Linked DNA regions of Homo sapiens: regions 1, 2, 3 and 5 are each linked to region 4. The links are contacts of gene promoters, found by promoter capture Hi-C in blood cells and fetal thymus (Javierre and others, 2016). All regions are on one chromosome and are shown on one strand. The core of a region is centred on a gene start or on the middle of the fragment in contact, and the rest is flanking DNA. Distances in the headings are between cores, read along the strand shown.

What was found. The method cuts DNA at HindIII sites, captures the fragments that hold promoters and counts their contacts. A CHiCAGO score of 5 or more calls a contact.
Region 1: a contact is called between a fragment that was not itself captured here and the fragment with the promoter of MSI1 in region 4, in 1 of 17 cell types (naive B cells). The highest score is 5.7, in naive B cells.
Region 2: a contact is called between a fragment that was not itself captured here and the fragment with the promoter of MSI1 in region 4, in 2 of 17 cell types (naive B cells and M0 macrophages). The highest score is 7.4, in naive B cells.
Region 3: the fragment with the promoter of HNF1A-AS1 here is called in contact with the fragment with the promoter of MSI1 in region 4 in 3 of 17 cell types (activated CD4 T cells, total B cells and naive B cells); the score reaches 9.2 in activated CD4 T cells.
Region 5: a fragment that was not itself captured here is called in contact with the fragment with the promoter of MSI1 in region 4 in 1 of 17 cell types (naive B cells); the score reaches 5.3 in naive B cells.

Annotation. Positions count from the first base shown.
Region 1 is chr12:121,092,246-121,094,945 of GRCh38, forward strand. It overlaps LOC105378258 (a long non-coding RNA gene), which reads right to left and starts at 750. Exons shown (of 4, transcript XR_007063492.1): 1 at 1-750. RefSeq lists an enhancer at 839-1,340. The HindIII fragment of the contact is 1,179 bases long and covers 821-1,999 here.
Region 2 is chr12:121,004,018-121,006,717 of GRCh38, forward strand. C12orf43 (chromosome 12 open reading frame 43) reads right to left here. Exons shown (of 6, transcript NM_022895.3): 4 at 2,304-2,377; 5 at 986-1,076; 6 at 1-472. The coding sequence ends at 136. Among named protein-coding and RNA genes, the nearest start is that of C12orf43, 11 kb to the right of the region's middle. The HindIII fragment of the contact is 4,279 bases long and covers 1-2,700 here.
Region 3 is chr12:120,970,972-120,973,796 of GRCh38, forward strand. HNF1A-AS1 (HNF1A antisense RNA 1) reads right to left here and starts at 1,321. Exons shown (of 1, transcript NR_024345.1): 1 at 1-1,321. RefSeq lists an enhancer at 1,914-2,441. The HindIII fragment of the contact is 11,110 bases long and covers 1-2,825 here.
Region 4 is chr12:120,367,784-120,370,483 of GRCh38, forward strand. MSI1 (musashi RNA binding protein 1) reads right to left here and starts at 1,381. Exons shown (of 15, transcript NM_002442.4): 1 at 1,250-1,381; 2 at 1,050-1,090; 3 at 409-490; 4 at 225-309. The coding sequence starts at 1,308. The HindIII fragment of the contact is 14,859 bases long and covers 1-2,700 here.
Region 5 is chr12:121,228,851-121,231,702 of GRCh38, forward strand. P2RX4 (purinergic receptor P2X 4) reads left to right here. Exons shown (of 12, transcript NM_002560.3): 7 at 1-16; 8 at 113-249. Among named protein-coding and RNA genes, the nearest start is that of P2RX4, 20 kb to the left of the region's middle. RefSeq lists a silencer at 1,416-1,710 and an enhancer at 1,657-1,706. The HindIII fragment of the contact is 662 bases long and covers 1,129-1,790 here.

The DNA.
Region 1 (2,700 bases), core at 160-2,659, 720 kb after region 4:
CATAGTATGTTTCTTTTCTAGTTGTAAGACTAGTGATTGACTTAACAATTTAGATTTTTCACAGATGAACTCAAAGAAGACCACAGCATAACAGTGTTAAGAGTTTTGTCTTAAATATGGGACACTGAACCCACCAGGAACCAGGATGATTGAATGAGCTTAACTGATTTTCCACAGTACCTTCAACTGATGGTTTTTCCCGCTGCACAGAATGGTGTGGCCAGCTGTGGATTTTTCTGACCCACGGCCTGGGGCCAGCCATAAAGTGTGCCGACTCCTCAGGAACACTCTCCTACCCTGGAGTCAACGTTCTCCCAAGTTATTACAAGGAAGACATCTTGCTGGGAGAATATCATAGAGAAACTTACAGCAATTGATTCCCAGTTCAAACTTTTGACCTTTTTCACCATCTGCATAAGAATCCACCTGAATCCGAGTAGGGCTCTGGGAAGCCCCTGCAGTGTGTGTTGCACTTAGTACTCAGCAGACTGTGTAGGCAAATACCTGCCTTCAGAGGAGATGATATAGAGAGGCAGCAAGTACTGTGTCCGGAATTGGTGGGTTCTTGGTCTCACTGACTTCAAAAATGAAGCCGCGGACTCTCGTGGCCAGTGTTACAGTTCTTAAAGGCCCCCTGTCTGGAGTTTGTTACTTCTGATGCTCGGATGTGTTTGCAGTTTCTTCCTTCCGGTGGGTTTGTGGTCTCGCTGGTTCCAGAGTGAAGCTGCAGACTTTTACAGTGAGTGTTACAGCTCATAAAAGCAGCGTGGACCCAAAGAATGAGCAGTAGCAAGATTTATTGCAAACAGCAAAAGAATAAAGCTTCCACACTATGAAAACGGGTCGGAGCGGGTTGCCACTACTACCTCTGGCAGCCTGCTTTTATTCTTATCTGGCCCCACCCACATCCTGCTGATTGGTCCATTTTACAGAGAGCCAATTGGTCCATTTTACAGAGAGCTGATTGGTCCGTTTTGACAGGGTGCTGATTGGTGCATTTACAATCCCTGAGCTAGACACAAAAGTTCTCCAAGTCCCCACCAGAGTAGCTAGATACAGAGTGTCCATTGGTGCATTCACAAACCCTGAGCTAGACACAGGGTGCTGATTGGTGTGTTTACAAACCTTGAGCTCTATATAGAGTGCCGATTGGTGTATTTACAATCCCTTAGCTAGACATAAAGGTTCTCCAAGTCCCCATCAGACTCAGGAGCCCAGCTGGCTTCAGCCAGTGGATTCCGCACGAGGGCCGCAGGTGGAGCTGCCTGCCAGTCCCGCAAGGTGCGCCCGTGCTCCTCAGCCCTTGGGCAGTCGATGGGACTGGGCGCCGTGGGGCAGGGGGCAGCACTTGTCGGGGAGACTCAGGCAGTGCAGGAGCCCACGGGGGCGGGGTGGAGGTTGGGGAGACTCAGGCTCAGGCATGGGGGGCTGCAGGTCCCGAGCCCTGCCCCACGGGGATGCAGCTAAGGCCCGGCGAGAAGTCTAGCACAGCAGCTGCTGGCCCAGGTGCTAAGCCCCTCACTGCCCGGGGCGGCGGTGCCGGCCGGCCGCTCCGAGTGCAGGGCCTGCCGAGCCCACGCCCACCTGGAACTCGCACTGGCCCGCAAGCGCTGCGCGCAGCCCTGGTTCCTGCTCGCGCCTCTCCCTCCACACCTCTCCACAAGCCGAGGGAGCCGGCTCCAGTCTTGGCCAGACCAGAAAGGGGCTCCCACAGTGCAGCGGCGGGCTGAAGGGCTCCTCAAGTGCCGCCAAAGTGGGAGCCCAGGCAGAGGAGGCGCTGAGAGCGAGCGAGGGCTGCTAGCACGCTGTCACCTCTCACTGGGGGGCCAGGCAGTCCTGCTCTTATCCCAAGTCAGTTTCCCACAGGAGGGATCTGCCCAACCTAGTGCTGGCTTTTTCAAGTGCTTCCTTTGCATATTCTAAATCAACTCAAAATGGATTAGAGACTTCAATGTAAGACCTGAAATCATAAAACTACGAGAAGAAAACACAGGGGAAAAGCTTCCTGACGTTGCAAACCGTACATCTCATAAGGAGGCAATATCAAGAATATATACGGAACTCATGGAACACAGTAGCAAAAAACAAATCACCTGATTGAAAATGGGCAAAGAACCTGAACAGATATTTATCAAAAGAAGACATATAAATGCCCAACGGGTGTATGAAAAAGTGCTCAACAGCACTAATCATCAGGGAAATGCAAATCAAAACCTCAATGAGACATCACCTCACACCTGTTAGAATGGCTATTATCCAAAAGAGGAAAGATAACAACTGTTATTGAGGATGTGGGGGAAAGGGATCACTGTACACTGTTAGTAAAAATGTAAACTTGTACAGCCATTATGGAAAATAACATCCATCCACAGATGAATGGGTGAGGGAAACGTGTCTACGCAATGGAATATTATTCAGCTCCAAAAAAGAAGGAAATCCTGCCATTTCCAACAGCCTGGATGAACCTGCTATGCTAAGTGAGATAAGTAAGCACAGAAAGACTAATACTGCATGATCTCAGCCTGGTACAGTGGCTCACGCCTGTAATCCCAACACTTCAGGAGGCTGAGGCAGGTGGATCACCTGAGGTCAGGAGTTTGAGACCAGCATGGCCAACATGGTGAAACTCCATCTCTATTAAAGATACAAAAATAGATTGTGGTGGTGCACGCCTGTAGTCCCAGCTACTCGGGAGGCTGA
Region 2 (2,700 bases), core at 201-2,700, 640 kb after region 4:
CTCATGGGCAGTCTGGGTTTGCCAGCCCAGTCCTTGAACTTGGAGAGGGAGGTGGGGCTTGGAAATGCCTTGTCCCCAGGGTGGGGGGGACACCTTGTCCTTGGAGCTGGCTGAGCCCTGTGCCCATGGCTGGGTTCAGTTTGCAGGTATAGCTGTAGCACTCTTTGCTGGTGGGAATGGAGAGGTCTCGCTGGCCTTCTTTGCCTTTTTCTTCTTTTTGGTCCCAAGCGACACCTGGTCCCCGTTGAGCTCACCTGACTTCTGCTTCTGGACTGTGGCCATGCTGGTGGGGGTGGTGGCAGCGACAGCCGAGTCGACACTGGCCACCTTCTTGGCTTTCTTTTTCAACTTCCTTTTCTTCTTTGCCTCCTTCTCCACTGTTCCAGGGCTGTGGATGGCTGACTCCTGTAGGATGTCGGACGCCGACACAGCTGCCTCCCGGCACCGCCGCCACTCCTCGTCACTGTCCTCACTGCTGCAACGAGAGGGTACCCTGGGTTAGCTGGAGTCAGGACACAGCCCCAGAGCTGCCTCTCGCTGTCCTCCCTTGGTCCAGGTCACCAGAAGGTGGCCGCAGAGAGAGGCAGGTAGTGAGTTCAGGCTTGGGAGTGAGGCCAACCTGGCTTCCAATACTGGCTTCTGGGCGTAGCAGCCTTGTGACCTCCTTAAGTGACTTAACCTCTCTGACTGTATCATCTCTAAAACGGGGATCTTAACAGAGTCCAGGCCTCCCAGGGATGTCCCAGGAGGCAACTATGATCAAGTGAGGTGTCTGGCCCAAGACAGGTGCTCAAAAGCAGTAAACATCCAAAGCTGCCGCCAAGAGGGCTTTCCCTCCCGCTGAGCTCATGATTTCTCCAGCTGCCTGACAGGGCCACTGCCTTGGCCTGGTCCTGACTGGAGTCTGCTTGGCTATTCCAGGGAACCCACCAAGACAGAAGAGGAGAAAAAAGGAGGGGACGTGAGGAGAGGTGTGAGTTCTCACCTGGAGCTGGAGGGCTGTCGCTTTCGGCGGGGTTGGGGAGACTCTTCCTTCTCACGGCCTCCAGGGACAGATGTGAAGAAAAGGCGGAAACCTAAGATTCAATGGGGCAGAGTCAAACAAAAACAAAACAAAACAAAAAGAAACATAAAAAAATAAAAAATAAAGAAACAAAAAAGAAAAAAATTTTAAAAAGGAAAACGAAAGAAAGAAAAGATAAAGAGAAACAAAAAAAAAATTTTAAGAAGACACAAAATAAAAAAATTTAAAAAAGAAACAATAACAAAAAAACCCAACCAAGCAAACAAACAAAAAAAACAAAGGAGCAGAGTCAGCACCCCCAGATGCCAGCCCCTCCTCCCAGGTGCCAGGTGCTGAAGCTGCCCCGCCTCTGCCCTCAGGAGCTCCTGGTCCAGAGGCAAAGACCCAGGAATCAGTCGTCTAACTACAAAGTGATTCTGCATCTGCCAAGGGTCATGCTGATGCCTGATGGAGCCAGTGGAGGGCGCGCTGGAGCAGGAGCCAGCAGCCACATCAGCTCAGCAAGCCCTCAGAGGCTTCTGGAAGTCAGCACTTGAGCTCCTGACCTAAGGCAGCCTTCAAAGTGGCAAATGTGTTGGTACAGGACAGACGCAGATGGGCGAGGCTGTGGAGGGCAGCAGTAAAGTGCTCCTGCTCAGGGTGACACAGACGAGGCCGCCTCAGGCAAATGACTTCGTTTCTCAGGGCCTCAGTCTCCTTGTCTGTACATGGGGTTCAATCATAATACCTGCCTCACCACAGGGGCTGAGCAGATGAAAGAATGGTGAGGTGGCCCATGCCTGTAACCCCAGTACTTTGGTAGTCTGAGGCGGGAGGATAGCTTGAGGCCAGGAGTTTAAGACCAGCCTGGGCAACATGACAGAACCCTGTCTCTAAAAAAAAATACAAAAATTAGCCAGGTGTGGTGGTGCACGCCTGTAGTCCCAGAACTTTGGAAGGCTAAGGTGGGCAGATGGCTTGAGGCCAGGAGTTCAAGACCAGCCTGGGCAACATAGCGAGATCCTGTCTCTAAAAAACATAAATAATTAGCCAGGGGTGGTGGTGTGTGTCTGTGGTCCCAGCTACTCAGGAAGCTGAGGTGGGAGGACTGCTTGGGTCCGGGAGGTTGAGGCTGCATTGAGCTATAATTGCTCCACTGCACTCCAGCCTAGGTGGCAGAGAGAGTTCCTATCTCAAAAAAAGAAAAAAAAAAAAGAATATACCAAAACTGTTTCGCCCACCTCCAGACACACATTAGGTGCTTAATAAATGATAGCTTCTATTAAGTATAACCACTCACCATCATCCTCCAAAGCGACTTTCTGTACCTTAGCTTTTGCTGGCTCCTTTGCTGCTTCTGAGATGGTAATGAAGCTACAGGGAGACGAGACGGTTGATTTAAGATGAGATTTTTGGATAACGACAAAAACAAAATTCTTTTTCAAGTGGAGGGGATGGGGTATGTGATTGTAAATGCAAAAGCGAAAGCGTGCTGGCCTAGTAAGAGGGCTGATGGTCTGGTTATAACATGCTGACCAGCCTCTGCCACGCGAACTGCAGTGCTTCATTTCTTTAAAGCCCACTTTATTCCAGTAAGTGTTGAAGAAGTTTTAAAGACATAGTAAAACAAGATGAGGCCAGGCATGGTGGCTCACGCCTGTAATCCTAGCACTTTGGGAGGCCAAGGCAGGCAGATC
Region 3 (2,825 bases), core at 71-2,570, 600 kb after region 4:
GGCTAATTTTTGTATTTTTAGTAGAAATGAGGTTTCGCCATGTTGGCCAGACTGGTCTCGAACTCCTGACCTCAAATGATCCACCTGCCTCGGCCTCCCAAAGTGCTGGGATTGCAGGTGTGATCCACCACACCTGGCCGCTTGCAGGGTGTTGGACACTGTGGATATCACCTCATTCATTCTCCTAACAACCCAAGAGAAGAGGAACTGAGGCAAAGAGAAGTTAAGCAAGTTGCCCAAGGCCATACGGCTAGTAAACGGCAGAACGAGGCTCAAACCCAGGCACTCTGGCTCTAGAGTGTGTGTTCCTAACCACTGTGCTCTAGCACCTCGGAACCTTAGTCTCTTCATCTGCAAAATCAGCACTGAGGTGACAAGGCCAACGAGCAGAGGGTTGGAGTTACCCAGAACAACAACAACAACAAAAGTAATAGTAACACATATTTGGTCAAGGCTTAGATTCTGGCGTCATGGGGATCTGGGTTCAAATCCTAATTCTGCCTTAGCCGATTAGGGTCCCTATCCTCTTAAAGCCTTGGTTTCCTTATCTGTAAAATGGGGATATCATGAAGCTGTTAGATGTTAAATGAGAAAATGAATGAGAAAATTGCATGTACTGTCCATAAAGTTGAAAAGATAATAGGGGTGGGAAGGAGAACAGTCCGAGTTTGAATGCAGGTGGGCCCTGGGGCATTGTCTGGACTGAAGGACAAGGGTCAGTTGAATTGCCAAAGAGCTCTGAGACTGGCTGAAGGGACACTCGTCTTGTGCTAGCTGCTAAGACCAAGGGGAAGCCTGTGCCTCGCCCGAATTTTAGTCTTGCAAACAGCTGCTCACCCAGTAGGAGAGAATTGTGATAAAACTCATAGCCACCATTTCTTGAATATCTACTATGCCCCGGGACACAGCAGACTATTTTAGAGAATTTGCGAAGGAAACACAGTGACATCTGTTGGACACCTTGCAAACTACCAGCTCAGGATAGTTAAATTTGAATGTTAGATGGAGGGAACTTCCTTTCCACAATGACATGATTTTGTAAAGCTGAGTGTATGGCAGTTGTCATGATTAAAAGCAAGTGCCATGCAGAAGTTATTGTGTAACAGGAAATGAGATTAGATAGCGTCCAATCTAATCTCAAGGTTTGAGTAGCTGTGGACAGCCCAACAGGCACAGGCCTCCCGTTAGTACATCCATACGAGAAGTTAAGAATGAGTGAAAATAGTTTTTTTTTTTTTAATTTATGTGCATTATTTTTTTCAAGCAGCTACCTTGTTAGGACATACTTAATAGTTATCTTGGCCTACCTACTGCACTTACTAAACAACTGTTCACTTTTTAATTTTTAATTTTCAGATTTTTTTGAGACGGATTGTTACTCTATCGCCCAGGCTGGAGTGCAGTGGCGTGATCTCTGCTCACTGCAACCTCCGCCTCCCGGGTTCAAGCTATTCTCCTGCCTCAGCCTCCTGAGTATCTGGGACTACAGGTGTGCGCCACCACATCCAGCTAATTTTTGTATTTTTAGTAGAGATGGGGTTTTACCATGTTGGCCAGGCTGATCTGGAACTCCTGACCTCAGGTGATCCACCTGCCTCGGTCTCCCAAAGCGCTGGGATTACAGGTATGAGCTACCATGTCCGGCTGTTCCTTTTTTTTTTTTTCTTTTTCTTTTTTTTTTGAGACGGAGTTTCTCTCTGTCACCCAGGCTGGAGTGCAGTGTCATGATCTCAGCTCACTGCAACCTCTGCCTTCTGGGTTCAAGTGATTCTCCTGCCTCAGCCTTCCGACTAGCTGGGATTATAGGTGCCCACTGACAAGCCTGGCTAATTTTTGTATTTTTAGTAGAGACGGGTTTTCACCATGTTGGCCAGGCTGGTCTCGAACTCCTGACCTCAAGTGATCCACCCACTTCGGTCTCCCAAAGTGCTGGGATGACAGGCATGAGCCACTGCGCCCAGCCACTGTTCGCTTTTTTTCTCAGTGGTTCTCTAGTCCATTGCCTTAACCACTCACCATGACTACAGCTCTTATTTGCAGTGACTCTCAAGAATGCAAATGCAAATGCCATTCCTGACCTCGAGTTAATTCAGCTTTGTCCCCTGAGCATGGGGGAAAGGCAGGCTGGGGGCTGGAACTTTCTGCTTGTGTACCTATCTCTTTAGACTCTGGAGGCTCCTCCCCAATCTCTGTCATTCCCTCTCCAACCAAATCCACCTGCCGTCCCAGACTCAAATGCTCAGCCACCTAACTGCCTGAGGACCCAGCAGTTAATGAGTTTACATGCTGGGGGCAGGAGTCAGGGCCAACACTCCTTGGTTCCTCTGGCTCCCTGGAAAGGGAAAGTCACCAAGAGGCAGCTGCAGGCAGCAAAGAGAATAAGCAGGAGAACCTCAAAGCCACAAAGGGACAGCACACAGCATCTTCCCTGTTTAGCCTGGACTTGAGAATGCTGTCCCCAGCAGTAAGCTGCTCAACCTCAAAGCAACTTGCACGGGGGTTTACAAAAAAATGCACTTGGCCGGGCACGGTGGCTCACGCCTATAATCCCAACAGTTTGGGAGGCCGAGGTGGGTGGATCTTTTGAGGCCAGGAGTTTGAGACCAGCCTGGCAAACATGGTGAAACCCTGTCTCTACCAAAAATACAAAAATTAGCCAGGCATGGTGGTGTGTGCCTGTAGTCCCAGCTACTCAGGAGGCTAAGGTAGGAGGATTGCTCGAACCCAGGAGGCAGAGGTTACAGTGAGCTGAGATCGCACCACTGTACTCCAGCCTGGGTGACAAAGTGAGGCTCTGTCTCAAAAATAAAAATAAAACATAAATG
Region 4 (2,700 bases), core at 131-2,630:
AGGGGAGGGGGGATGTAGCATCTCATGGCAGGCCAGGGATTTTTCTCCTCCCTCTCCCCCCCAACTCTAGTGACAAAGTTTCAGAGCATGGCAGCCCTCTTACTCAGAAAAACTCCCTCCTTCCTCATGGACCCCGTCCAGCTGTCCCCTGGGGAGAGTCCTGACCCTCTCCTCCGGCAGCCTCCCTCTCCCAAAGGACCCCCGAAGCCCCGAGGGCCACTCACTGTTTTGGAGTCGAGCTCGTGCCGCGATTGCGCCAGCACTTTATCCACCCCCGCCTGGTCCATGAAAGTGACGAAGCCGAAACCCCTGCGCGCCGTAGTGAGGGAGAGGCAGATGGTTACAAGGCAGTGAGTGGCGGGTGGAGGGGGGCGAGCCGGGAGCAGGAGGAGGGGGTGAGGGGCTCACCTGGATCTCTTGGTCAGGGGGTCCCGCATCACCAGACACTCCTTCACCTCCCCGAACTGGCCGAAGTATTCGCGCAGCCCTTCTGTAACCACACACCCGCCTTCGGACCAGCCCGGGCCCCGCGCCCTTCCCCCCCCCCCGTCCTTTGCCCCCGGTGACCCCGGAGCGGCCCGGCCGCCCCCGCGCCAAGCTGCCCGCGCGTTCTCCACTGCCGCCGCCCCCCACCGCCCTCGCCCCGTTCCCGCTGAGCCTCCTGGCGCCCACCGGGGCCCCGGGAAGCCGAGGGCCGAGCTGGGCTGGAAGGGGGACGGCTCCGGCCGGGTTCCCGCCGCTCCGGGAGCAGCCTCACAAAAGTTTGAGCCGCAGGTGCGAGCGGAGTTGGCGCTGCCGCCGGCGGGTCCCGGGGGCCCAGCCCACCCCCCGATACCCCCTGAACCCCTCATCTGCTCCCCTCCACCCGCTGGGCCGGGTGCGCTCGCGGATCGCCCTGCGCTCTCGGGGTCTCCGGGCGGGGCGCGAAAGAGGGCGCGAGGGCGCCCGGGGTCAGCAGGGCGCAGGGCCGGGCTGGGGTGTCCGGGTCCGGGGCGCCGGGGGGTCCGGGGTGCCCTGCCGGACCGGCGGGCGCTCCCGGGCTCGCTCACCCTGCGTAGTCTGCCAACTGAGTCCCCCGATGAACATCTTGCTGCGGGAGGAGGAGAGACACAAAGGGCCCGCGTGAGCGCCGGGCGCCAGGGCGCAGGGGGCGCGGGCCCGGGCTCCGGGGAGGCCCGGCCGGACCCGGATCGGCCATGTTGGCGGGGCCGGGGCGGGCGCGGGCCAAGCAGGCCGGGCCGGGCCGTACCAGGGGTCGTGCGGCGAGTCCGGGGAGGCGAGGCCGGGCTGGGGCGCGTCAGTCTCCATCGGGAGCCGCGGGCGGCGCGGGCAGCGGAGCGGCGGCGGCGGCGGCGGCGGCGGCGCTCGGCGCGGGGCAGATGAGGAGCGCGGCGAAGGGGGCCGGACGGACAGGCCATGCTGCCCCCTCCCCCGACCCCGCTCGGGCGGGCGGGCGGGGACGGCCGAGGGGAGGGCCCGCCGGGGGCCGACCTGCCGGCTCCTCCCCCCGCCGCCCTGCGCGCATAAAGCCCCGCGCTCGCCCGCGAGCCCGGGCGCCCGCGGAGGCGGCGGCGCCGGGACCCCCTTCCCGCGGGGCTCCTGGGTCTCCGGGGCCGAGCGAGACCCCCGAATCCCGGTGCGGGCCGGGACCAGGGCGCGGCCGCACCCCCCACCCACCCCGGCGCGGGGGCCCGGCCGCGGGAACGCCCTCCCGGAATGAAGCGCTTCCCGGTGCCTTCAAGGTAGCTCGGTTCCGGATCGGGAACCCCCCCGGTCTTCCCTCTCAGGTCCCTGCTGTCCAGAATTGAAGAGAACCCCAATCTCCTCGGGTCGGGCGGGAGATAGCCCTAGTGCTCCCCAGTCCCCACATGCTCCATTTCCCCAGTCGGAGCGAGAAGCCGCCCTCAGAGCCCCCAGTTTCCTCCCAACCTAATTTACAGCCCCCCACCCCCACCCCAGGGCTCTAATTTAGAGCCCTCGCTCCGTTCCCAGGATCCCATATCCAGTTTGGGGGACCCACTCAGTGCCTCGCGTCCCGAGTGGGGAACCTCCATCAGCACCCCAGTAGAAACCGTATCCTCTTCCCCAATCCGTCCTCAGCCCTTGGTGTCCAAAGTGAGAGTCCCCCTTAGTTTCCCCAAATCCCTGCCGTCCACATTAGTGGACCCTATGGTCTGTTGAGAAAATCCCGCGCCCCAAGCCCGGGTTCTCAGTTTGCCGCCACCCCCACCTCCCGGTGTGAGGAGTCTCCCCTGGTTCTCTCCCTCCCTGGCCGGTTTTTGTGAGATCCATTCAGACTCCTGTCCTGATTCGGGAAACCCGGTTCCAGACACTCACCACCCCCACCACACCGAGGCTGGAGGAAAAGGCAGTGCCTCTTAGAGCCTCCTGTTTCCAGTTTAGGAGCCCAACGCCTCAGCTGTGCACCGTCCCCTCCGAATGACCCCCTTCTTTTGCAGAGGTCTAAGCTCCACCCCATCCCATTGGAAGAGCCTAAACTACCTACCCACTGCATTTGGAATGACTTCCCTCAGTCCCTCTTATTTTGAGGCTACTCCCCGTGAAGGCAAACACCTTCCTTTCTACCCCCATCTTCTGGGTCTCTGGGATCCCCCAGTACTTGCACCCAAGGCTCCTTGGAGTCACCTTACGTACCCCTAAAATTCCCTCCCTCCAGCCTGGGAACAACCCTGAGAAAGT
Region 5 (2,852 bases), core at 210-2,709, 860 kb after region 4:
GGACATGGCCGTGGAGGTGGGTGCGGGCCCTGGCTCTCCTGACCCAGCCCTGGAGGCGTCTCGTGCCAGGTGCTGAGGAAAGCCTTGCCGTGTCTCTGCTGCTCATCCCCAGGGAGGCATCATGGGCATCCAGGTCAACTGGGACTGCAACCTGGACAGAGCCGCCTCCCTCTGCTTGCCCAGGTACTCCTTCCGCCGCCTCGATACACGGGACGTTGAGCACAACGTATCTCCTGGCTACAATTTCAGGTGGGCGTGAGCTTGGGCCCCTCGCTCATGTTGTAGGGGGTGCTGGTGGCTGCGTACGTGCCAGTGGGCCGCCCACTGAAGACCAGCACTCAGGCAGCACCCCAAGGGCAGGCTGCCGGTCCCCCGTCCAAGGCGGCGGGAAGGCCATGCTGGGAAAATGCCCTTAGTGGTGTCCTGCTCCGGGGCCATCCCGGCCCCCGAGACCCCTCCTTGCCCTTTCCTGCCGCAAGAAACATGTTGAGATGGTTCTTAGAGCAGCCAGGAGAAGCTGGGGGCTTAAGCTTTCCAGCACCTGCCTCAGCCATGACCTCCATTCACTGCCTCAAGGAGCGGATGATCTTGTGATCCTCCAGTCCAAAGGCCTCTGGGGCCTGGCCCAGGAATTGGTTTCTCAAAGGTTGAACCTGTGCCAGAATCTCCAGAGTGCAGGGGACACAGGTCTGAGGCCCCTGAAAGGCCTTGCTGGGTTCCCTGCTGCAAATGCTGGCATCTCGGTGTCCTGGGGCAGATGTAAGCGAGTCCCACAAACAGTGGCTTGCAACTACAGGACTTGATTCTCTCACAGTTCTCACAGTTCTAGAGGCCACAACCTAAAATCCAGGCATCAGCAGGGCTGTGCTCGCTCTGAAGGCTCTGGAGAGAGTCCTTACTTGTCTCTCCTGGCTTCTGGTAGCCCACGGTGTTCCTTGGCTTGTGGATGCATCACTCCAGTCTCTGCCTCTCCTGTCATGAGGCCTTCTGCCTTGTATGTGTCTCTGTGTCTTTTCTTCTTGTAAGGATATCAGTCACTGAATTTAGGGCCCACCCTACTCTAGTATGACCTCATCTTAACAAATTACGTCTGCCAATATCCCATTTCCAAATAAGGTCACACTCCCAAGCTTCAGGTAGATGTGAATTTTTGGGGACACACTGTTCAACCCACTACAGCTGATGATCTCATGATCAGAATCTATAGCCAGGTAAATTTCCACGTACCCTTTGTTGCATTTTTCACAGTCCTTAAAAAGGAAGCGCTCCAGGCCGGGCGCAGTGACTCACACCTGTAATCCTAGCACTTTGGGAGGCCAAGGCGGGCAGATCACCTGAGGCCAGCATGGCGAAACCCCATCTCTACTAAAAAAAATACAAAAATTAGCTGGGCATGGTGGCGCATGCCTGTAATCCCAGCAACTTGGGAGGCTGAGGCAGGAGAATCGCTTGAGCCAGGGAGGCAGAGGTTGCAGTGAGCCGAGATCGCACTGCTGCACTCCAGCCTGGGCGACAAAGCAAGTCTCCGTCTCAGGGGGAAAAAAAAGAGGCCCTGCAAGGACCATCCCTGGGCGCGGTCAGCGGTGCTTTGGGCTGCACTTGCCTCCCCCTAGTGGTGACGTGTGGAATCCGATCCATACGGGATCCTAAGACCTCTGTAATTGTGGGATCTGCTGTCCTTTTGAACCTTCTGGCTCACTGAGTAAAGCAGATATTTGAATTTTTCTTTTCTAGCAGTTAGATTTGTGTTATTCCATCTCTACTGTCACACACTTCTTGTGGAAACCTCAAGCTTAGGTCAGAGCCCTAAAACGGAAAGAACTCAGGACGCCTATCCCCCAACCTCGGGCAGCACCAGGCCCTGCCTGTGTCTCCCAGGCCTGGCCCATGGCGTGGAAGTTGTGGGCCAGATAGAGCATGGAGCTAGGGTGCGGGCCGAGGCTCCTGATGGATCCCTGGAGAACATGGGGCAGCAGATGGTATGTCTTGACGGTTCTTCACCAACCATCCATCCCCTGCTCATGCGTGTGCGCTCTCTCGCGTGCTCGCTCTCTCTCTCTCTCATATATGTATATGTATATATGTGTATATATATATATAGCCATTATATATATAGCCATTATATATATATATTTTTTTTTTTTTCTTCTTTTTTAAGGGAGTGACTTGCTCTGTCACCCAGGTTGGAGTGCAGTGGTGCGATTTCAGCTCACTGCAGCCTTTGCCTCCCGGGTTCAAGACATTCTCCTGCCTCAGCCGCCTGAGTAGCTGGGATTACAGGCGCCCGCCACCACACCCAGCTAATTTTTTGTATTTTTATTAGAGACGGGGTTTCTCCACATTGGCCAGGGTGGTCTCGAGCTCCTCACCTCAAGTGATCCACCTGCCTCGGCCTCCCAAAGTGCCGGAATTACAGGTGTGAGCCACCGCACCCAGCCATATATTTTTAAATGGTCTTACTGAGATGCAATTCACATGCCATACCGTTCACACATTTGAAGTGCAGAATTCATAGTTTTCACTATATTCACAGATAAGTGCAGGCTTCACCACAGTCGATTTTAGAACATTTCCGTCATCTCAAAAAGAAACCCTGCACCCTTCTGTCATCCCCCGGCCCCTGGCAACAGTGGTCTACTTTCTGTCTCTGCAGATGTGCCTCTTCTGAGCATTTCATATAATCAATATGTGGCCTTTTGCGTCTGGCTCCTTCCCCTTAGCCTGATGTTTTCAAGCTTCATCCATGTCGTAGCCTGTGTCAGTACCTCGTCTCTTTTTATGGCCAAATCATATTCTGCTGTGTTGACAGACGACGTTTTGTTCATCTCTTTATCTGTGTGACGAACGAGTGG